3 separate regions of the Homo sapiens genome follow, and regions 1 and 3 are each linked to region 2. The links are contacts of gene promoters, found by promoter capture Hi-C in blood cells and fetal thymus (Javierre and others, 2016). All regions are on one chromosome and are shown on one strand. Each heading gives the region's core, a stretch centred on a gene start or on the middle of the fragment in contact. The rest is flanking DNA. Distances are from core to core; before and after follow the strand shown. Region 1 has its middle 29 kb from the start of ARPIN-AP3S2. Region 2 holds the start of MESP1 (mesoderm posterior bHLH transcription factor 1). Region 3 has its middle 17 kb from the start of ZNF710.

Region 1 (4,789 bases), core at 1,815-4,314, 190 kb after region 2:
GGGAGCTGGGACTACAGGCATGTGCTACCATGCCCAGCTGATTTTTGTATTTTTTTGCAGACACAGGGTTTCACCATGTTGCCCAGGCTGGCCTCAAACTCCTGAGCTCAAGCAATTCGCTCTCCTCGGCCTCCCAAAGTGCTGGGATTACAGGCAGGCACCACTGCACCCGTCAGCCTTTAAAGACAAGGAAATCCTGTCATTTGCAACAACTAATTAAGAAACAATGTTTTTGTAGAGGTGAAGTCTTTCTATGTTGCTATGGATGAACTTGGAGGACATTATGTGAAGTGAAATAAGCCAGACACAGAAAGACAAATACTGAATGATCTCACTTGTATGTGAACTGTAAAAAAGTCAAGCTCATAGAAGCAGAGAATAGAATGGTGTTTGCCAGGGACTGGGGAGATGTTGGTCAGAGGATACAAAATTTCAGTTAGACAGAAAATATAAGTTCAAGAGACCTATTGTACAACCTGGTGACTATAGTCGAAAGCAACGTACTATATACTTGAACATTGCTAAGAGAGTAGATTTTAAGTGTTCTTAGTACAAATAAGTATGTGAAGTAATGCATACATTAATTAGCTTGATATAGCTATTCCACAGTGTTTACATATCTCAAAACATCATGTTGCTCACCATATATGTACAATTTTATTTGTCAATTAAAAAAAGAAAAAAAAAAACAAATGAACTGTACCCAGTGACAGTGTGGTGACATCTCACAATATCAGAGATAAAAGATAAGTCTTGGAGTGGGTTGTGGCGGCATGCGCCTGTAATCCAAGCTATTTGGGAGGCTGAGGCGGGAAGACCACTTGAGGCCAGGAGTTCAAGACCAGCCTGGGCAACATAGTGAAACACCCATCTCTAAAAATACTTTTTTAAAGAAATCCTTCCTTAAGAGAGGAAAAACAGATCAACTAAAAAGGGACAAAAAATTGGATTGGCATCAGCTCTTCTTTTGGTAACACTGGATGCAAGAAGATAATGACAAAGTCTGAGGGGGAAAAAACGTTTATTTTTATTTTTCTTATTATCTTTTTTGAGATGGAGTTTCACTCTTGTTGCCCAGGCTGGAGTGCAATGGTGCAATCACGGCTCACTGCAACCTACACCTCCCGGGTTCAAGCAATTCTTCTGCCTCAGCCTCCCGAGTAGCTGGAATTACAGGCATCTGACACCATGCCCGGCTAATTTTTGTATTTTTAGTAGAGACGGAATTTCACCACATTGGCCAGGCTGGTCTTAAACTCCTGACCTCGGGTGATCTGCCCACCTCGGCCTTACAAGGGGGAAAAACATTATGAGCCCAGAAATCTATCCCCACATATACTATCCACCAAGTGGAGAACAAAACACGTCCATTTCAGACCTTTGAGATCTAAAACTTTTTTTTCTTTTTTTTTTGAGACAGAGTCTCGCTCTCGTTGCCCAGGCTAGAGTGCAGTGGCGTGATCTTGGCTCACCGCAAACTCCGCCTCCCGGGTTCAAGTGATTCTCCTGCCTCAGCCTCGCGAGTAGCTGGGACTTCAGGCGCACACCACCACACCCGGCTAATTTTGTATTTTTAGTAGAGACGGGGTTTCTCCATGTTGGTCAGGCTGGTCTCGAACTCCCAACCTCAGGTGATCCACCCGCCTCGGCCTCCCAAAGTGCTGGGATTACAGGCATGAGCCACCGCGCCCGGCCAAGATCTAAAACATTTTACCAGCCAAGAACCACATATGAAAGAATTATTAGAGGATGTGTTTCAACAAGAAAAATTAGGAATTTGTGGCAGACAGACACTAAGAGGGTCCCCAGTGATCCCCACCTGTTGGTGTTCACTCCCTTGTGTAATGCCCTCTCCATGAGTGTAGGTGGGCCTGTGACTTGCTTCTAGCCGATAGGAGACAGCAAAAGTTCTGGCTTCTATTTTGCTAGAAAATTTTCTCCTTTGCTTACTCAGAGGACCCAGCTGACATGTTGTGAGCTACCCTATGGAGATATCCATATTGCAAAGGCCCAAGGGAAGCCTCCAGCCAACATCCAGCTAGGAACTGAGACCCTGAGGCCAACAGCCCTGAATAAACTAAATTCTGAATCTTTCCCCAGTCAACCCTTTGGAGGAGAGCCCAGCATTGATTGCAGCCTCAAAAGACCCTGAATCAGAGGGCCCAGCTAAGCTATGCTTGCATCCTGGCCCAGGAAAACTGTGAAATAATACATGTTTCTTTTTTGTTGTTGTTGTTGTTTTTTACCTGAGACAGAGTCTTACTCTGTCAACCAGGCTGGAGTGGAGTGGTGCAATCACAGTTCACTGCAACCTCCTCCTCCTGGGCTCAAGCGATCCTCCCACTTCAGCCTCCTGAGTAGCTGGGACTACAGGTGCACACCACCCTGCTCAGCTAATTTTTGTATTTTTTGTAGAGACAGGAATTTTGCCTTGCTGCCCAGGCTGGTCTTGAACTCCTGAGCTCAAACGACCCACTGGGCTCGGCCTCCGAAAGTGCTGGGATTACAGGAAGGAGCCACAGCGCCCAGCCATATTTTGTTTTAAGCCACTAAATATTGATAATTTTTTGTTTTGTTTTGTTTTTGTTTGAGACAGAGTCTGACTCTGTCGCCTAGGCTGGAGTGCAGTGGCGCGATCTCAGCTCACTGCAACCTCCAACTCCCTAGTTCAAGTGATTCTCCTGCCTCAGCCTCCTGAGTAGCTGAGATTACAGGCACGTGCCACCACGCCCAGTTAATTTTTGTACTTTTAATAGAGATGGGGCTTCACCATGTTGGCCAGGATGGTCTCGATCTCCTGACCTTGTGATCCGCCCGCCTCAGCCTCCCAAAGTGCTGGGATGACAGGCATGAGCCACCATCCCTGGCCAAATATTGATAATTTTTAATGCAGCAATTGATAAGACAGAATCCAAGAGGGAGATGTGAGATATAAGGAGTGGTGGGTAAAGAAGCCAGTAAAACTTTTTGATGTCCAAGAAGGTGTGGATTAAAAATAAACAAAACAAAACTCTGCAATGGGAATCTCTGATTATTTCAACATGGGAGGTGGGAAGAGGAGAATAAATGAAAGAGGGAAGAAAGAGAGTAAAAGATTTCTTGTTTTATTTGAAGGTACGATATAGATTCTTATTAAAATCTAGAGGTTGATATATAAATACATTGTAAATATTTATTTATTTATTTATTTATTTATTGAGACCGAATCTTGCTCTGTCACCCAGGCTGGAGTGCAATGGTGCAATCTTGGCTCACTGCAACCTCTGCCTCCCAGGTTCAAGCGATTCTCCTGCCTTAGCCTCCCAAATTGCTGGGACTACAGGCGTAAACCACCACGCCCAGCTAATTTTTGGGTATTCAGTAGAGACGGGGTTTCACCGTGTTGGCCAGGCTGGTCTCAAATTTGTGACCTCAAGTGATCCGCCTGCCTCAGCCTCCCAAAGTGCTGAGATTACAGGCGTGAGCCACCGCACCCAGCCAATTGTAAATATTTACATAAAAATTTCAGGGTAGAGAACTTCCTGAAAAAACAATTAAATTATGGTAAAGTATTGTTTAAGAGACATATACCCATAAAGAAGTGGAGAATGGTGGAGAGGACAATAGTAAGACAATAAATAGATGGACGGCTGGTAAATGATGCAGCATACCCAGGAAGACTGAGTCCTAGAGCAGGAGTTGGAGGCAGATATACTGCAAAGAAAGGATACCATAGAAAAGGAACATTCAGGAATTTTCTGAAGATGAGTTTTTGGAAATTAAAAACATGACGGTAGAAATGAAAAGTTGGAATTGAAGTGGAGGAAATCTCCCAGAAAATAGAGCAAAGAGACAGAGACAAAGAGATGGAAAATAGAAGAGAAAATAGAAAATAAAATCAAGCCTGGCATGGTAGCTCACACCTGTAATCCCAGCACTTCAGGAGGCCAAGGCGGGCAAATCACCTGAGGTCAGGAGTTCAAGACCAGCATGGCCAACATGGTGAAACTCCGTCTCTACTAAAAATACAAAAACTAGCTGGGTGTGGTGGCACATGCCTGTAATCCCAGTTACTCAAGAGGCTGAGGCAGGAGAATCACTTGAACCTGGGAGGTAGAGGTTGCAGTGGGCTGAGATCACCACTGAGATCACACCACTGCACTCCAGCCTGGGCGGCAGAGTGAGACGCCATCTCAAAAAAAAAACAAAAAAAATTAGCCAGGCATAACGGCACACACCTGTAGTCCCAGCTACTTGGAAGGCTGAGGCAGGAGAATCATTTGAACCTGGGAGGCAGAGGCTGCAGTGGGCCGAGATCGTGTCATTGCACTCCAGCCTGGGCAACAGAGCAAGACTTTGCCAAAAAAAAAAAAAAAAAAAAAAAAAATCAATACAGGAGGTCCACTGGTCAAATAATAAGCAGTTAAGAAAGAAGAAACAGAGAAAGTGGAGGTGGGGAAGTTTATTTTCAAAGCAATTTAATTTGATAAAAATTTCCAGAATTTTTACCATGATGCGCAGCACTGCTATGAAGTCTGTGTAGTTAAGAACACATTATCATTGTTCAGCTCATGCTTTATCTCTTTCGTTTTGTTTACTTTGATTTGCTTATGTGTGCATTTATGCATGCATTTATTTATATAATGAACCCTCATTTGAATCCACAGCCCAACTAGCCAATAATATCCATGGGCTTCTTGCCTTTCCCATCTCCCAGCCTCCCCCAACTAAAGATAACCACCATCCTAAATTTGGTGTTTCTTCTTCTTCTTCTTTTTTTTTTTTTTTTTTTTTTTAAGTATTTCATTTT
Region 2 (4,832 bases), core at 2,206-4,705:
TTGCAGCGGGGCTGAGAACTGAGGTGAGGGAGGCTCCACTACCACCCGGCACGGGGCGCCTACCTGGACGCTGGCTACTGTTGTCGGCTCTGTGAACAGGCACACAGGGTTTCCTCCGGGTGTGGGATGGGGCTGCCCGGGATGGGGGTTGGGGATGCTGGAGCAGTGGGAGATGTCCCCTGCCTATCTCCAGTCCTGAGTCTGGGCAGCTATTAGCAGAACCTTGTTAATGAAAATTCACACCTAGGTGCTAATAAACACTGGGCCACTCCCAGGCTCAGAGGCGGAGGAGAAGCCCTCTGCAGGGAAGGGGGCTAGCCAATGAGCCCCACTTATCTGTGAAAAGACTTGCTAATAACTTTAATTCCCCATTCTAAAACGCAGGGCCTTTGCCATGCAAATAGATCTTCTAAGCTGTGTCGGCTCCAGAAAACTTCCCACTCTACCCCAGTTAGGGTCCTGGGAGGGGAGTGAGAGATGGGACAGAGGAGCAGGAAAGGGGGTGACCCGCGGAGGTGTGAGGTCCCACCCCGCTGCAGGCCTGACTTTTGGAGCCCACTCTGTGGCCAAGCGCCAGGCCGGGTGTGCCCTGCCTGGCCTGGACCCCTGAACTGCAGATCAGGGACTCGATCCCACTCTGCATTACCGCCCCTCCTGGCCCGGGCCGGAGTACTGGAAGTGATCTCTGAAGCAGTTGAAAAACAAACCGAGCGGCATCAGCGGATGAACCACGGATAAACCAACTGTCATGTAGCTGAACAATGGAAGATTATTGGGCAATAAAAAGAAACGAAGTTCTGACACAGGAGGCAGCATGATGAGCCTTAAAAACATTGTGCTCAGTGAAAGAAGCCAGACACAAAAGGCCGTATTTTGCGATTCCTTTTATATGAAATGTCCTGAAAAAGCAAACCTATAGAGACAGAGACTAGAAGAGTGAGTGCCAGGGACTGGGAGTAGGGAATAGTGAGGAGTGATGTTAACAGGTATACGGTTTCTTTTGGGGGGTGAAAACGTTCTAAAATTAGTGGCAATGCTTGCACAACTCTGTGGATGTACTAAAGCCATTCAGTTGTTAAAAGAGTGAATTTTATGGTATGTGAATTGTATCCTAATAAAGCTCTTATAAAAACAGACACTGAAGCCTGTGTTTCAGACACTTGAAGGAGAGGAGGGGAGAACTGGGTATCTATCCATAGAGGGTAAAGGACGCTTGGCAGAGAGGCTACACATCCCTTCTCCCCACCGCACCCTCTAATCATGACTGTTGCCCAGACACCCTGGCTGGATGAGGACACACTTTCTGGGCTCAAGCCTCCCGTTTCTTGCTCCCTGATGTGAATCCAGCCAATGCAGACAGGCACGCAACTGCCTGTGTGGATTCCGATGCAACCCCATGGGCCCCTCATCTCACCCCATCTAGGCCTGTAGGAGGTCATGGTTATATAAACTCAGGACCGCCACACCATTATTTATGTCTCTAAGCCACAAGGTGGGGAAACCAGAGAAAAGGCAGATGGGAAAATGCCGGCGGAGGGTGGGGGAGTTCCAAGGCCAGGATGCTCCCGTGCATGGAGAATAAGACCACAGGATGCAAGAAAATAACCCCTTGGAGCTGTTATCCCTCAGGCCCCAACATGTATGGAGCTGGCAAAATCCCACAAGAGCTGAGCGCTGGGACTCTGGAGGCCTACCTGGGCTTGAGCGCTGATCCTCATCCTTCTGTAAAATGGTTACTTGAGTATAATAGGTACCTGATGTACATACAATAAATACTCAATAATGGAGTTGTATTTCTACACAGATATTTTGGTTTTAACCAGTTCCCCACCAGGTTCAAAGAAAAGATGAGCAGATTCTACTTGCCGCTGCCTTCTCACAGGACGTCCCTCCCCACCCATTCCAGGCTGACCCATCTGGACTAGATGCTGAGCCAGGGCTGGGGGTAAGGCCAAAGGGGTCTGGGCCTGTGGGGGTCGGGGGGCTAAAGATTGCAAGAACCCCTCCCACCTCTCCCATGCTCTTCTTTGGAGGGAGAGAGGGAGCTCTGTGTCCACGGGTAGGAAGAAGAAATTGCCAACTGACACCAGTACAGTTTATTCACAAATAAATAAATTCACATTAGGCAGAGCCTCCTGCTTGCCTCAAAGTGTCTAGCCCTATGGGTCCCTCCATGGAGGGAGGGGCTGAGAAGGGCCGCCGCGGTGGGGACGGCTCTCACCCGCAGGAATGCCCCCGTCGGGATCGCCCGTGCCCTCTTCCAGGAAAGGCAGTCTGCCAAGGAACCACTTCGAAGGTGCTGAGGCCAAAAAGCCTCGGTGCTCACAGAGACGGCGTCAGTTGTCCCTTGTCACTTGGGCTCCTCAGGCAGCCACTCCAGAGGCGAGAGGGGCATCCAGGTCTCCAACAGAGCCAGCACGTCGCCCGGAAGGAGCTGTAGGGAGAGACGGAACAGCGCAGCCCTCAAGCACTGGTGGCCTTGTGCGGGTGTCCGCGCTCGTGGGCTCCACTCTCAGGGGGCCCCTAGCGAGGGGAGACCCAGTCCTCTGCGTGGCCTTTCCCTGCCTTCGCTTCTTGGAGCCCTGGGCATACTATGGTGGCCAGGTGGCCAGGCTGCCGGCGGGGAGCAGCAGGGTGCCTGGTCCTCACCTTGGCGGGCGGTGGGGCTGTGCGCGGGGGCACGGACGAAGGGGGCGCGGGGAAGGGGACACTAACCGGGGACGGTGGGCTTGGCTCCATCGCCTGCCCTTCAGGGCACGCCGCCTCGGCGAACAGCGCAGGCGGGTCGCGCGGCTCGGGTGCAGCTCGGGCTCCGGGGCAGGCAGGCGGGGATCCCCAGGACGCCCCGGCGCGGACGGCGGATACCAGGCCCAGCCCGCGCCCCTGCCCCTGCCCCTCAGCCTGCGTCCGTGTCTGCATCTGCGCGGGGCAGTCGTCGGGGCACAGCGGGCAGCCCCGAGGGGACCCCGCGTCACCGCGCTGCCGGCACCGGCGCTGGAGACTCTCCTCGCTGAGGCCTAGCACGGCCGACAGGTGGCCGATATAGCGGATAGCCAGGCGCAGCGTCTCGATCTTGGTCAGGCTCTGGCCCGCGGGCGCCACGGACGGCGGTAGAAAGCGGCGCAGCTCGTGCAGGGCGCGGGCCAGCGTGCGCATGCGCAGTTTCTCCCGCTCACTGGCGCTCTGCCTCTGCCCGCTGCCCAGGCGGCTGCTGCGCGCGCCGCGCCTACCTACGGAGGGGGCGCGGGGGTCCCGGAGGGTGCCTGGCCGCGCGGGGCTCGCCACGGGGCTGTCGGCTGGGGTGCTGCCCCATGAGTCTGGGGACGAGACGAGGGAGCGGCCGCAGTCCTTGTCGGAGGGCGGCGGCCGCCGAGTTGGGCCCCAGGCCGCAGAGAGCATCCAGGACTCGGAGAGCGGCGGGCACAGGGGCTGGGCCATGGCAGCGGCGGCGCGTCTGGGGGCCGGCGGCCGGCGGCCGCTTTATGCCGAGCCCGAGGTGTGAAGTGGCCCCTTCCAGGCCGCATCAGCACATCAAAGTGGGCTCGGGGCTTGGAGGGGGCGGAGCCTGACCCTTTGAATCCACGGCGGGGGGCCAAGGTGCCAGCCCCTTGACTGCGCCTGTTTCGCCCCACCTGGGCCCTCGCTTGGGCGCCCGACCCAGCCTCTCGGCCTTCCCGCCTGCGCCCAGTGTTGGGTGAAGCCCGGGGCGTTGGGCCAGCCCTGCAGGTTAAAGGAAGCGGGGTCAGAAAAACGAAATCTAGATCCTAGGTTTGGGGCCTGCCTTCACCTGTTGGGGACCTTATGCAAATTCTTAGTTCTTTTGCACCTTAGCTTCCAATTTGTATAATGAGAGCCTCAGGGCATGCGCCAATTGGACAGTGGAGTAGAGTAAGGACCAGGAGCAGGGACCCTCATTCCCTCTAAAGGTGGAGAAAACAGTAAACCACTTCTCCTTTGAGGCAGGATGGCCCTGGGTAGACCCTTCCCTGGTAAGAACATGTGGACAGTGCAAGGAAGCTTGCACCCCGGCAAATTCAATAAGCTGCCGAGTCTGGTCAGGATGCTGGACCTTCTGAGCAGAGGGAGGGGGTTAAGCCTGCTCCAACCCCAGGCCACCTCTAGCCTGGCAAGGTCTGGAGCTTGGCCTGTTGCCACAGCTGTCACCACTGGCCTTTACCTGATGTTCTGCCGCTATTGGACAGGTATAACAGGTTTTCCCAATGAAATGTGAGTGGAAATGACGCAGCAAAGGCATTTGACAAAATCCAACACCCTTCGTGATGAAAATTCTCAGCAAACTAAGAATAGAGAGGAATTTCATCAACCTGATGAAAGGCTCCTACAAAGAACCTACAGGTAGCCTCATACTGAGTAGTGAAAGACTGAAATCTTCCCCCCACCCCCCGATTGCAGGAACAAAGCGAGGGTGTCTCTCTTACCACTCCTATTCAACATTGTACCAGATGGAGGATCTAGGCTATGCAATTAGGAAACAAAAGACATACAGGTCAGAAAGGAAGAAATAAAACTCTTTTCGCAGGTTATGGCAGCTCTGGGCCCTGCTGCGCATGAGCCTGACCAATTTAAAGCGGAATCCTGGCTCCAGGAAACCCATGAGACGACCAAAAGGTCGGAGAAGAGGTAGAAAATGCGGCAGAGGCCATAAAAGAGAAAGGCAGAGAGGAAACTGGCTCTGCTGGGCTTTGGGGATGGCCAGACTCTATTTTACATCGGAATCCCAAAATACAGATTTAATGAAGGACTTAGCTTCAGACACCAGTATCAACCTTTAAGTATCAATAGACTGTAATATGTTACTGATTTGGGTCGTG
Region 3 (4,731 bases), core at 1,133-3,632, 230 kb after region 2:
CAGTCCTGCATCCCATGCCCATGGGATGGGGTCACCCATGCCCAGCGGCAATTGTTCAATGACATTTTGTTCTTTCTTTTCTCCCTTGTAATTTCCTGACTAGCCGCCTCACCCATTATCTTCATGTTCCTGAAATTTGTGATACAAAGAGCAATGTATAGCCAATTAATAGCTATGTTCTTCTTTTCTTTTTTCTTTTTTTTTTTTTTCTTGAGACAGAGTCTCACTCTGTCGCCCAGGCTGGAGTACAGCAGCGCCATCCTCGGCTCACTGCAACTTCCACCTCCCAGGTTCAAGCAGTTCTCCTGTCTCAGCCTCCCGAGTAGCTGGGACCACAGATATGTGCCACCATGCCCGGCTAATTTTTGTATTTTTAGTAGAGACAGGGTTTTACCATGTTGCCAAGACTGCTCTTGAACTCCTGGCCTCTTGTAATCCACCCTCCTCGGCCTCCCAAGGTGCTGGGATTACAGGTGTGGGCCACCGGCGCAGGGCTGCCATTATTTTCATGCAAATTCTTGGTAAACAATTTAGGAACTGCCTCTTTGTTTTTCATTTAAAAACCCACTAGTTGCTATAACCACTGAGTACTAAAACAAACAAACACACAACAACAACAACAACAAAACCCACCTGTAACTTCTGCTAATCAGAGTGTATATTCAGGGCAACTTGAATCTATGCTCCCAAGTTGCAGTTTCCAAACTAGCCCCAGATAAATTCTCTACTTGTATTAATTTGCCTCAGTTTCTTTCTGTAAGTTAACGTATCTGGCACAGATCCACAGGATTCAGAGTGACCGCCACTGACTACCCAGTGTTCCCTCTGAGACTCAGTGCTGGGTGCCAGCCTCACTCTATTGTGTTCCTTTGACTCCAGTAATTTCAAACCCTCTCTTTCATTTAAGAATCAGGGCTTTGGTCTCTGTCTCTACACAGAAGATTCAGGAAAAGAGCTCTGCTGAGGACTTCTGCCTTCTCCAACTCTGCTTCAGGGCAAAAGGATCCAGTTATCGGCTGTCAGGTGCTGGTGGTTTCACCTCTCTTGGCAGAAAATAATGTAGCATTGCTTTTAAAATTGCAGCCCTCCTATTGATTGTAATTCAGACTTGTCTTTGAATTTCTGACTAATTCCCGTTCCAAACTGAAAGATGCATGAAGGTAAGTTGTCTTTGTGGGTTTATTTATTTATTTGAGACGGAGTCTCGCTCTGTCGCCCAGCTGGAGTGTAGTGGTGTGATCTCCACTCACTGCAACCTCCGCCTCCCTGATTCTGGTGATCCTCCTACCTCAGCCTCCCGAGTAGCTGGGATTACAGGCGCCTGCCATCAAACCCGGCTAATTTTTGTATTTTTGATAGAGATGGGGTTTCACCATGTTGGCCAGGCTGGTCTGGAACTCCTGACCTCAGGTGATCTGCCCACTTCCGCCTCCCACAGTGCTGGGATTACAGGTGTGAGACACCACACCTGGCTTTGGCATCCATTTTTAATCTTCTTCTAATACACCCAAACTCCCTGAAAATGTTTAAATTCTCTCTGTGCATTGAGATGCAAGTTTGCTACTCTGTTTTCTCAAAAACTTGACAAGGGCTTCAATAAGCTTTAACTTACTCCATTTAACAAGGCACAATTTAATCCAACTGTCCTTTTAAACTAGTGAGTTTTACCAGTTTTATGGCTAAAACTTTAAGTAAAAGCATTAACATCATTATTTTTGTGTCTGTGTAGGTTTTTTTTGTTTGTTTGTTTTGGATTTTTTGTTTGTTGGTTTTTTGAGACAAAGTCTCACTGTGTCACCCAGGCTGGAGTACCTTGACTTTCTGGGCTCAGGCAGTCCTCCCACCCTAGCCTCCCAAGTAGCTGGGACAATAGATGAGCACCACCCACACCCAGCTGATATTTTTAAAAATTATTTTTGTAGAGATGGGATCTCCTTATGTTGGCCAGGCTAGCCTCAAATTTTGGGCTCAAGTGATCCTCCAGCCCCAGCCTCCCAAAGTGCTGCGATTACAAGCATGAGCCACCCACCTGGCCTGTCTGTATTTTTTATGTATACAGCATACATGTCTTTGTTTGTATACTGTCTACATGGTTCCAAGTTGACTTGTAATAAATGAATGTTCATAAATTAAATACGTAAATCCAAATGCCTTTCTTCTCTCCCTTTCTTTCTTTCTTTCTTTCTTTCTCTTTCTTCCTTCCTTTCTTTCTTTCTTTCTTTCTTTCTTTCTTTCTCACTCTCCTTCCTTCCTTCCTTCTTTCCTTCATTCTTTCTTTCTTTTGTTCTTTCTTTTTTTGAGACAGGGTCTCACTCTGTCACGCAGGCTGGTATGCAGTGATGTGATCATAGCTTGCTGCATCTTTGAACTTCTGGGCTCAAGTGATCCCCTGCTTCAGCCTCCTGAGTAGCTAGGACTACAGGTACATGCCACCATGCCTGGCTACCAAATGCTTTTTAAGTTCATGTGACTTTAGTCATCTTTTATAAATAAAACTAGTTTTAAAATCGTTGGTAATATGAAATTAGGATTTTTCAGAATTGTCGGTATTAAATATAGTTAAGACATTTTTGCCTGGGTCTATGGGTTGGACGGGTTTTACTGTCTTTGCTAGATATTTTAAGGTCATACAGCTGTTGCTTCTGTAATTTTTTTATACTTTCTTGATTTATTTGTGAGCTAAAGCTGTGTGAGTGGCTGCTAGGCTTCCCTGAAGCATTGCATACATCTTACTGTGAGCTTCCGTCTTTGGTTTTGCACCTTTAGAGTCTGGATTCTACACAGGTGGCCATAGTAAGCCCTGAAGACATATGTATGTCTATAGCACCTAAGCCACCAGTGACAGGGCAGAGACAAACCCAATATGTCCTCCCTGGCCCAGCTGTGTTTCCTACCCATGTGGGAAAGGGTCAGATCCTCCAGGCATTGTCTTCACAGCTCCATCCTAAGCTCTACACCTGGCATATAAATTCAGGATCGAGATGGGCTCGCCCTTCATTGCCATCCTTGGTGCCACATGGGTACTTGGGACCCAAGATGACTGAGGAAGACACTGGGGAGGGTACTTGTATATTATAAGTCATCTTATCTTAAATTAATGAATATGTAATCATAAAATGTCTAAGTCATTTCTAAGTAAGTTAAAATACTGAAATATTAAACATAAGCTTATGTACTTGGGCATCTTATTTCTTTCTTTTCTTCTCTTTTTTTTTAGATAGAGTCTTGCTCTGTCACCCAGGCTGGAGTGCAGTGGCACAATCCCAACTCACTGCAACCTCACTTCCCTGGCTGAAGCGATCCTCCCACCTCAGCCTTGCAAGTAGCTGAGACCACAAGCATGCACCACCACGCCCAGCTAATTTTTTGTTTTTTGTAGAGATAAGATTTCACTATGTTGCCCAGGCTGGTCTTGAACTCCTGAGTTCAAGTGATCCATCTGCCTCAGCCTCCCAAAGTGCTAGGATTACAGGCCTGAGCCGCCATGCCTGGGCAGCATCTCATTTTCATATGGTATAGAAAAGCTAAAATACATTTAGATCGGTTAATAAACAAAAAAAATGAAGTAACATCTTCCTAAAAAGTTATGAAATGGTTTTCATCTATAAATAATGATATAAAATAGTTCAAAATAACTTATAGGTTTTTCACTAGAAACTAAGGTTACTAAGAGATAAAATTGTAGTTAATATGTGGAATTAAAACTACTAGTTCTAAGAGAAGCAATTATTTATACAGAACATATCAGAAAAATAGGATGTGTTTTTGGCAAAGAAGATTGTAAAGAAGGCATGACAGTGTGGTTTTTGTTCAAGGAAAAGTAATTTTGTCTGGGATTTTTTTTCTTTTTTTTTTAGGGACAGGATCTTGCTTTGTCACCCAGGCTGGAGTACAGTGGCACCATCAATAGCTCACTACAGCCTCAAACTCCTGGGCTCAAATAATCCTCCTGCCTCAGCCTCCTGAGCAGCTAGGACTACAGGCATGTGCCACTGCACCCAGCTAATTTTTTTTTTTGTAGGTATAGGGTCTCACTATGTTGCCTAGACTGGTCTCAAACTCCTGGTCTCAAGCAATCCTCCCATCTCAGCCTCCCAAAATGCTGGAATTACAAGTGGGAGGCACCACACCAGCCTTGTCTGGAGGTTTTTAAATGTTGTTTTAAATAGAAGAGATTTTTTAAAAAAGAATGACACATAAAACTGATTGGATATGGAAACTTGGGGAAAGAGATAATGTGGGAAACTTGTGACATTATACAACTGGTGAAACACACATCATAAAAAATCAATTGGCAGGTTGGGCATGGTGGCTCATGCCTGTAATCCCAGCACTTTGGGAGGCAGAGGTAAGAGATCACTTGACCCAGGAGTTTGAGACCAGCCTGGGCAACATGGTGAGACCCCATCTCTACCAAAAAAAAAAAAAAAAAAAAATTAACCGGGTATAGTGGTGTATGCCTGTAGTCCCAGCTACTTGGGAGGCTGAGGAGGGAGAATCGCTTGAGCCCGGAGGTTTGAGGCAGCAGTTAGCAGAGATTGCAGGGTGACGAGCAAGTCACTGTCTCAAAAAAAAAAAAGAAGACCAAAAAAACCCACAACAATCAACTGGCAAAGCTTACAGAAACCTTTAACCTTCCCTGGCCTAAGGCTCCTCCATTTGCTTAACTTATATTCTACTCTAGAAAACTTCAGCTCTCTTCCTTTGAAATAAAAACAGGAAGGCCATGCT

What was found. Contacts are between HindIII fragments. The CHiCAGO score rates a contact against its expected background, and 5 or more counts as called.
Region 1: a contact is called between a fragment that was not itself captured here and the fragment with the promoter of MESP1 in region 2, in 1 of 17 cell types (M2 macrophages). The highest score is 5.2, in M2 macrophages.
Region 3: a fragment that was not itself captured here is called in contact with the fragment with the promoter of MESP1 in region 2 in 7 of 17 cell types (endothelial precursors, M2 macrophages, M1 macrophages and 4 more); the score reaches 9.7 in endothelial precursors.

The regions. Positions count from the first base shown.
Region 1 is chr15:89,939,763-89,944,551 of GRCh38, forward strand. No RefSeq gene overlaps it. Among named protein-coding and RNA genes, the nearest start is that of ARPIN-AP3S2, 29 kb to the left of the region's middle. The HindIII fragment of the contact is 9,566 bases long and covers 1-4,789 here.
Region 2 is chr15:89,747,794-89,752,625 of GRCh38, forward strand. It overlaps MESP1 (mesoderm posterior bHLH transcription factor 1), which reads right to left and starts at 3,456. Exons shown (of 2, transcript NM_018670.4): 1 at 2,716-3,456; 2 at 2,082-2,434. The coding sequence starts at 3,438. The coding sequence ends at 2,351. It also overlaps the pseudogene MRPL15P1. RefSeq lists silencers at 2,727-3,016, 3,077-3,506. The HindIII fragment of the contact is 7,264 bases long and covers 1-4,015 here.
Region 3 is chr15:89,981,993-89,986,723 of GRCh38, forward strand. No RefSeq gene overlaps it. Among named protein-coding and RNA genes, the nearest start is that of ZNF710, 17 kb to the right of the region's middle. RefSeq lists an enhancer at 245-966. The HindIII fragment of the contact is 1,566 bases long and covers 1,600-3,165 here.